Linked DNA regions of Homo sapiens: region 2 is linked to region 1. The links are contacts of gene promoters, found by promoter capture Hi-C in human tissues and cell types (Jung and others, 2019). All regions are on one chromosome and are shown on one strand. Each heading gives the region's core, a stretch centred on a gene start or on the middle of the fragment in contact. The rest is flanking DNA. Distances are from core to core; before and after follow the strand shown. Region 1 holds the start of CBX1 (chromobox 1). Region 2 overlaps SKAP1 (src kinase associated phosphoprotein 1).

Region 1 (3,229 bases), core at 231-2,730:
TTATGATATTGCTGGGCTGGGTTTTTCTTACATGACAGTTCTCCAGAGCCGTGAACAGTGCCTGCATCAGCAAAACTGTCTTATAAATGCAAACTCCTGCCCTGAACAGTGCCTGCATCAGCAAAACTGTCTTATAAATGCAAACTCTTGCCTTTTGGGGTAGAGTGCAATAGAGTTTCCCTCTTCCTCCTGATTAGAAGGATACTTTAAAATAAAAAAATAAAACTTTAGTTATATTGTGGCTTAAAAACATGTTTTTTTCCTAATTGTGTGTTTCCTTGGGATGATTGGGTGAAAGGTGCTGACGGAGATTAATGACACTGAAAAAGGTGAGCACAACTTACAATGAAAAAGAGGACATTTTTGTGGCGCAGCCAGTGAAAAGGGGGAAATTCAGGAAGCTATGAGAGGCCTATGGGGGGACCTAACCTACTCTAGGGAATCAGGGAAGACCTCAAAGGGGAAGTAATCTTAACACTGAACAGTATTTTTTTTTTTAGACGAAGTTTCGCTCTTGTTGCCCAGGCTGGAGTGCAATGGCGCGATCTCGGCTCACTGTAACCTCCACCTCCTGGGTTCAAGCGATTCTCCTCCCTCAGCCTCCCGAGTAGCTGGCACTACAGGCGCCCGCCACGACGCCCAGCTAATTTTTGTATTTTAGTAGAGATGGGGTTTCACCATGTTGGCCAGGCTGGTCTTGAAACCCTGACCTCAAGTGATCCACCCACCTCCGCCTCCCCAAGTGTTGGGATTATAGGCTTGAGCCACCGTGCCGGCGTGAGTAGGAATTTTACAGAGATTTGAGGAGGCAGAGATTGAGGACTAAGAAATCATTGGAAATTTGAGGCAGCGGCGATATGATAAAGTTCTGGTGAAGAATCTAAGATTCAAAAATTTTGAGGATGTGAATTACAGAACTGTCCAGAAGTGGTTGATTTTTTGGGGGCCAAGCATCAGGGGGCTCGCTTATAAAAATCATATGTTCTAATTTTTTTTTTTTTTTTTTTTTGAGATGGAGTCTCGCTCCATCGCCCAGGCTGGATCGCAGTGGCTGGATCTCGGCTCACTGCAAGCTCCGCCTCCCAAGTTCAAGCAATTCTTGTCTCAGCCTCCTGAGTAGCTGGGACTACAGGCACCTGCCACCACGCTCGGCTAATTTTTGCATTTTTAGTAGAGACAGGGTTTCACCTTGTTGGTAAGACTGGTCTCGAACCCCTGACCTCAGGTGATCCACCCGCCTCGGCCTCCCAAAGTGCTGGGATGACAGGCGTGAGCGACTGCCCCTGGCCCATATGTTCTAATATTCTAGGTTACAACGCTCTACGCTGCAATCTCTCCACCGTTACAGTTTAAAAACTATAAGTCCCTACCACCCTCGCCTACTGTGCGTGCGCGGCGCGCGGCGCTTCGGGCCTTGTAGTCTTGGACAGACCCCCGAGGCCCATGGTGCCGTGCGGCGGGTCGTTGCGCCTGCGCGGTGCGAGCGGCGGGCAGCGCAGACTGCGAGGCTCTTTTGTTCGGCTGAGGGGAGGGCCGTTGGCCGGGGCCTGCGGTACGCCGCTTCAGTGAGGGACGCCACTGCGGCCACCCGGCTTGCTGCCTTCCTGGGCGCCACTCCCCCAGGCGACCCGACGCGACGCGCCAGCAGCGCAGCACCGATTCCTCTCGGGCTCTTGGGCGCTGCTCTGAGGTGAGGAGCCCGCTGGAGGCGGGAGAGCTGGGGGAGGGGGCGCGGCGGCGGCGGCGGCGGGAGCCCTGCGTGAGGGAACGCGCTTTCGAGGCGGAGGTTAGGAGCGGGGAGCGCGCCCGGGTCCAGCGTCCTGCTTCTCCGCTTCCCGCGCTGAGCTCTTCGCCTGTCGCTGAGGCGTCGGTGCCAGCTGCGTGAAGGATGGAGAGGGCGGGGCGCGAATCCTGAGCCAGAGACTGAGTGCTTGGGGGTGGGCCGAGCACTTGGGGGCCGCTCTTCGGGGCCCGGGTGGTCTGGAACAATGTTGCTTGGCTGGGCGGCTGCGGGATAGGGCGGAAGGGGACAGGCTTGAGGCTTGGATAGGCGTGAGGAGGCGCATACGACCGCACAACCCGAGGTTTGTAACTGTATTCGGAAGACGCCGGGTCCGGCTGGGACTGCCAGAGGAACCTGGCTTTGCAGGACTACGGAGGAGTAACGTCGAGTGAATTGGAAGAGGGCCCAGGGCCGCACAAGGTGTGCTGATTGGAGGAGGAGATGTGTGGAATAAATTGGGAAAGGGGACACGGAGGGGGAGGGGCAGGCGTTTGCTGGGCCTGACTCTGGAAGGGGAGGAGCTGTTAGGATAAGTAGGGCGGAGATCCCGAGAATATTTCTATAAGGTATGTAAGAAAAAAGGGGAAAGCAGGCCGCCCTTGCATCCTGATGGGTCCTTACAGTGGGGAGGCTGTAAGAATAATGTGCGAAGAAAGGATGGAATACGCTTTTTTCAGTTTTCCAGGTTTCCTACTACCTTCACTCCATGATTCCTTTGGGGAGTTAAAAAAGTCCAAGTGCAGTTCTTGCTTTGATTCAAAATTAGTTCCGTACGTTTTTGTGTGGGATCGTAACTGGTCTCACAAAGGTGATGAAATTGTAAAAATATGTAGATGAGTTAATAGTTGAGGAACGGCGTGAGGTAGTGAGAGATTGTGAGATCGTGTGAGGTGCGAGAAATTGGGAGACATAGGAAAATTATGTGAGATTGTGAGGTAATATTTGTTTCGTGGGCCCTTCTGTTTTTAGCCAGCTTTTCCTTGTTGGAAAATTTGAATAGAGTGAGCTATATTTTACCTCTTTTTTTTTTTTTTTTTGAGAAGAGTCTTCCTCTGTTGCCCAGGCTGGAGTGCAGTGGTGCGATCTTGGCTCACTGCAACCTCCACCTCCCGGATTCATGCGATTCTCTTGCCTCAGCCTCCCGACTAGCTGGGATTACAGGCACACGCCACCACGCCCGGCTAATTTTTGTATTTTTAGTAGAGACGGGGTTTCACCGTACTGGTCACGCTGGTCTCGAACTCCTGACCTCGTGATCCTCCCGCGTCGGCCTCCCAAAGTGCTGGGATTATAGGCGTGAGCCACTGCGCCTGGCCATATTTTACCTCTTTTTCAAAGTTTCAAATGAGGGTTTTTCATAAATTGGTGTTACATTTAGACGTGTTGGTTTAACGCAATTGAGGTGGAATTTACAAAAAGTTCAGCTATAATCAGTTATATACTAGA
Region 2 (3,382 bases), core at 164-2,663, 240 kb before region 1:
ACACAGAAACATTTTATTTTGTATAATAGCACAATTAGTAATACCCAAGTTTTAAAATGGGGTTTGTAATATAGGATCTGTGTATTGATTCAGGTATTACACTAAAAACATTGTTTGGATTGAAAGTTTAATAATTACATTGGTAGCTGATTAATAATTGTAGAAAATTAACAGTGCAAAACAGGAAGAAATCAACTTTTCATTTGTTTTTGATTATTCTAATGCTTGACAGAATTAGAACAATAATGCCTCATTAATCCTTAGGTCACTTATTTGGTATTTCCAACTTTCCCAAACACAACTGAGAACACAATAAGTAATCCAGAAAGGCCTCTAAGTGGAAATAGATGTGACTTATGTACCTTGCTCTTGGAAGAACCCCTAAGGCCCTTTGCTGAGGAATCTTCTTACAAGTTTCTAACCAATACAGTGTTTTGGTTTCTCAGCCCACAGTAGAGCTTCAAATTAGAAGAAGGGGTACTATAAAGGCATCAATTAACAATAAGATTAAGGTAAGAAACAAGAACAAAACTTTATATAGAAAACAAAATCTATAAATAAAATTTATCTAAGAATAATTTTTTTTAAATAGCAGTTTGGGGTCATTTTCTATGATAGAGAAAAAGAGTGCATGCTCACCTAAGTGCTCAGTACCTTAATAAATTAAAACTTCTTTAGCCAGCATTTATTGTTTATTGAGCACTTACTATTTGCCTTGCATCATCTGTATGGTAAGCACTCTGCATATGTCATCATTTGATCCTCAAGACTGCCCTAAAATGTGGATATTAGGTTTACCCTTATTTTACAGACAAGGAAACAGACTCAGGGAAGTTAACTTATCTAAAATCACACAGCTGGTACGTAGTAGTGCCAGGATTTACACATACATAGTCTGGTTCTAAAACCTCTGCTCTTAACCACTCTACTATCCTTACCACTATCCTTATCTGAGATATCCAAAAAAATAGATTCATACTCCAAACATTTTGGCAGATTCATACTCCAAACATTTTGGCTAAGACCATACAGATAAAAATACTATGCTTAAAAATATTTTCATTAAAATAGTTGAAATTTAGGAAAAACATTTGTGTTGAAAGAGGTAAATCTGGAAAACTCCAAAGTGCAAAACTCATAAGAGGAGTTAATTATATTAGTAATATTAAATTCTTACTTAATAAATTTTTGTTTTTAGTTCTATGCATGAAATTAAAGAATTCCCAAAGTGACATAGTCAATGGTAGAGGTAGGAATAGACCTATTTCTATGTTAAAAACTTGATTGTAAGATGATGTGATACTGTTTAAATGTGAGTTTCTGCAAAGCATTGAATCTAGCACAGTGCCTGAGTGCCTAATACATAACAGGCACAATAAATGTTCATTTTCATCCCCTGAAAATTAAAGATACATACATTTCCTGTGAAATTAAAGAGAAAGTTATAAAGGTGTCAAAATTTTTAGCAATCTCTATATCCTATTTAATTAGTTTTTACCATTATAGAGAATGGTAACACTTGATATGCTACTTATTCATTTTTTTAAACAAATGTTTGTTTAAAGATTCCTAGTTAACACCAAGACACTGTGTTAAGCTGCAGGTGAAAAATGCAGTGAGAAAGCAGATACAGTCCCTGCCCTCATGGAGCTTACCATCTCACTGGGAAAACTATTAATAAGTAGACAAATAAAAAAATATAAAGTTAGTGTCTTTATAGATAGCTAAGTCAATTATTTATGAAGAAAAAATATTCCTCTTTATTTTTTATTATTATTTTTTTTGAGACAGAGTTTCGCTCTGTCACCCAGGCTAGAGTGCAGTGGTGGGATCTCGGCTCACTGCAAACTCTGCCTCCTGGGTTCACGCCATTCTCCTGCCTCAGCCTCCCAAGTAGCTGGGACTATAGGCGCCGGCCACCGCGCCTGGCTAATTTTTTGTATTTTTAGTAGAGACGGGGTTTCACCGTGTTAGCCAGGATGGTCTCGATCTCCTGACTTCGTGATCCACCCGCCTTGGCCTCCCAGATATTCCTCTTTAACATTCTTTGTAATGACAGTTATTTTAGGCTTCTCGAATTTTGTCTTCATTAGAAAATGTGAAAATATTTCAGATATTTTGTCTTCCACTGTCAGCTAGAGTAGTATCCTAGACTTGCCATTATAAAAGGATACACAGTCGGGCCCATCCACCCATAATTTTAGTGATGAGGGGCAGTAACCATGCTGCATATTGTGTTTAGGTCATGACTTTGTGAAAACTACAAAGAGTGCTAGAAGAATATAGAAGCATGCTGCATATTGTGTTTAGGTCATGACTTTGTGAAAACTACAAAGAGTGCTAGAAGAATATAGAAACCTGGCCAGGTACACAGCAAAAAATGAAAACCAAGGTTACAGGCTAACCCATGCATAAAAATGAGAGCCTGTTGCTACCTAATTACAATTCCTTCTCCTTTTCCTTTGTAAATGCCCACAATTTGAAGGCAGAGAGAGACACCCACAAGAGCACAGCCCCACCATCGGGAACAAAAACTTGCTAACAAGTAATAACATTTAGATTTCTGAACTAAAAGCATAGTTTTTACCATATGGAAGGAAAAAAATGTAGTAGGAAACACTGACCACAATACTTAGTACAAGAGCCAGGCAACTACAAAGCTCAAGATCTGATTGTTTTCAGCGTCCAAATATACAGTGGATTTTAATGTATTTATAAACTTACTTTGTTAGTATAATGAAGAATCCCTGCATACCTACATTATTTTTTAAAGTGGATTGGGGAAAGTGATCATTCTGTAAGCAGGATATAGTGACTCCTTCTGGAAGAAAAAGAAAAAATAAAATTATTTTAGAAGAAACCTAAAATCTATGATAATGTATTTATTTGTTATATATGTTTACGTTCTAATTAAAGAATGGGTGAATGGATATTGAACAATTAAATCTGGATAGAAGTGAGAATATTTTAGAGCTTCTTTGTGCATCAGGATGTTGAAGGTTAGAGAAGATTCTTATTCTTCAGCAAAATGAGAAACAACTGGAAAAGGAAAGACCTGTAACTATCACTGGAAAAGAGTAGTAATGAATAACTGAAGAGACTGTTGTTGATTGATTTTATTACATACTTGTTGATTTAAAAGGAACTGCAAACATGTTAAAGTACCAATAGTAGCTATTTTCAACTCCATGCCATTTCTGAAAAGAACATTTAAAAATATAGAGAATATTCTGGAAATAAAAAGAACCCTTTTTTTACAGTGCTATTTTTAGCACTTTTAAGACATTTCTCTGTTTTCATTTTAGTTCTGAAATACAAGTCAATTTTGCATTTAAGATTATGAATAATAATAGACTAGATTTTGTTGATCATTGTGGGTTTT

The links. The method cuts DNA at HindIII sites, captures the fragments that hold promoters and counts their contacts. A contact is called where the count stands out against the background at its distance.
Region 2: a contact is called between a fragment that was not itself captured here and the fragment with the promoter of CBX1 in region 1, in 1 of the 25 tissues and cell types used here (liver).

The regions. Positions count from the first base shown.
Region 1 is chr17:48,099,729-48,102,957 of GRCh38, reverse strand. It overlaps CBX1 (chromobox 1), which reads left to right and starts at 1,480. Exons shown (of 5, transcript NM_001127228.2): 1 at 1,480-1,690. RefSeq lists enhancers at 1,062-1,321, 1,148-1,747 and a silencer at 1,692-1,741. The HindIII fragment of the contact is 10,755 bases long and covers 1-3,229 here.
Region 2 is chr17:48,341,387-48,344,768 of GRCh38, reverse strand. All of the region lies in intron 4 of SKAP1 (src kinase associated phosphoprotein 1), which reads left to right. Among named protein-coding and RNA genes, the nearest start is that of SKAP1-AS2, 49 kb to the right of the region's middle. The HindIII fragment of the contact is 7,800 bases long and covers 1-3,382 here.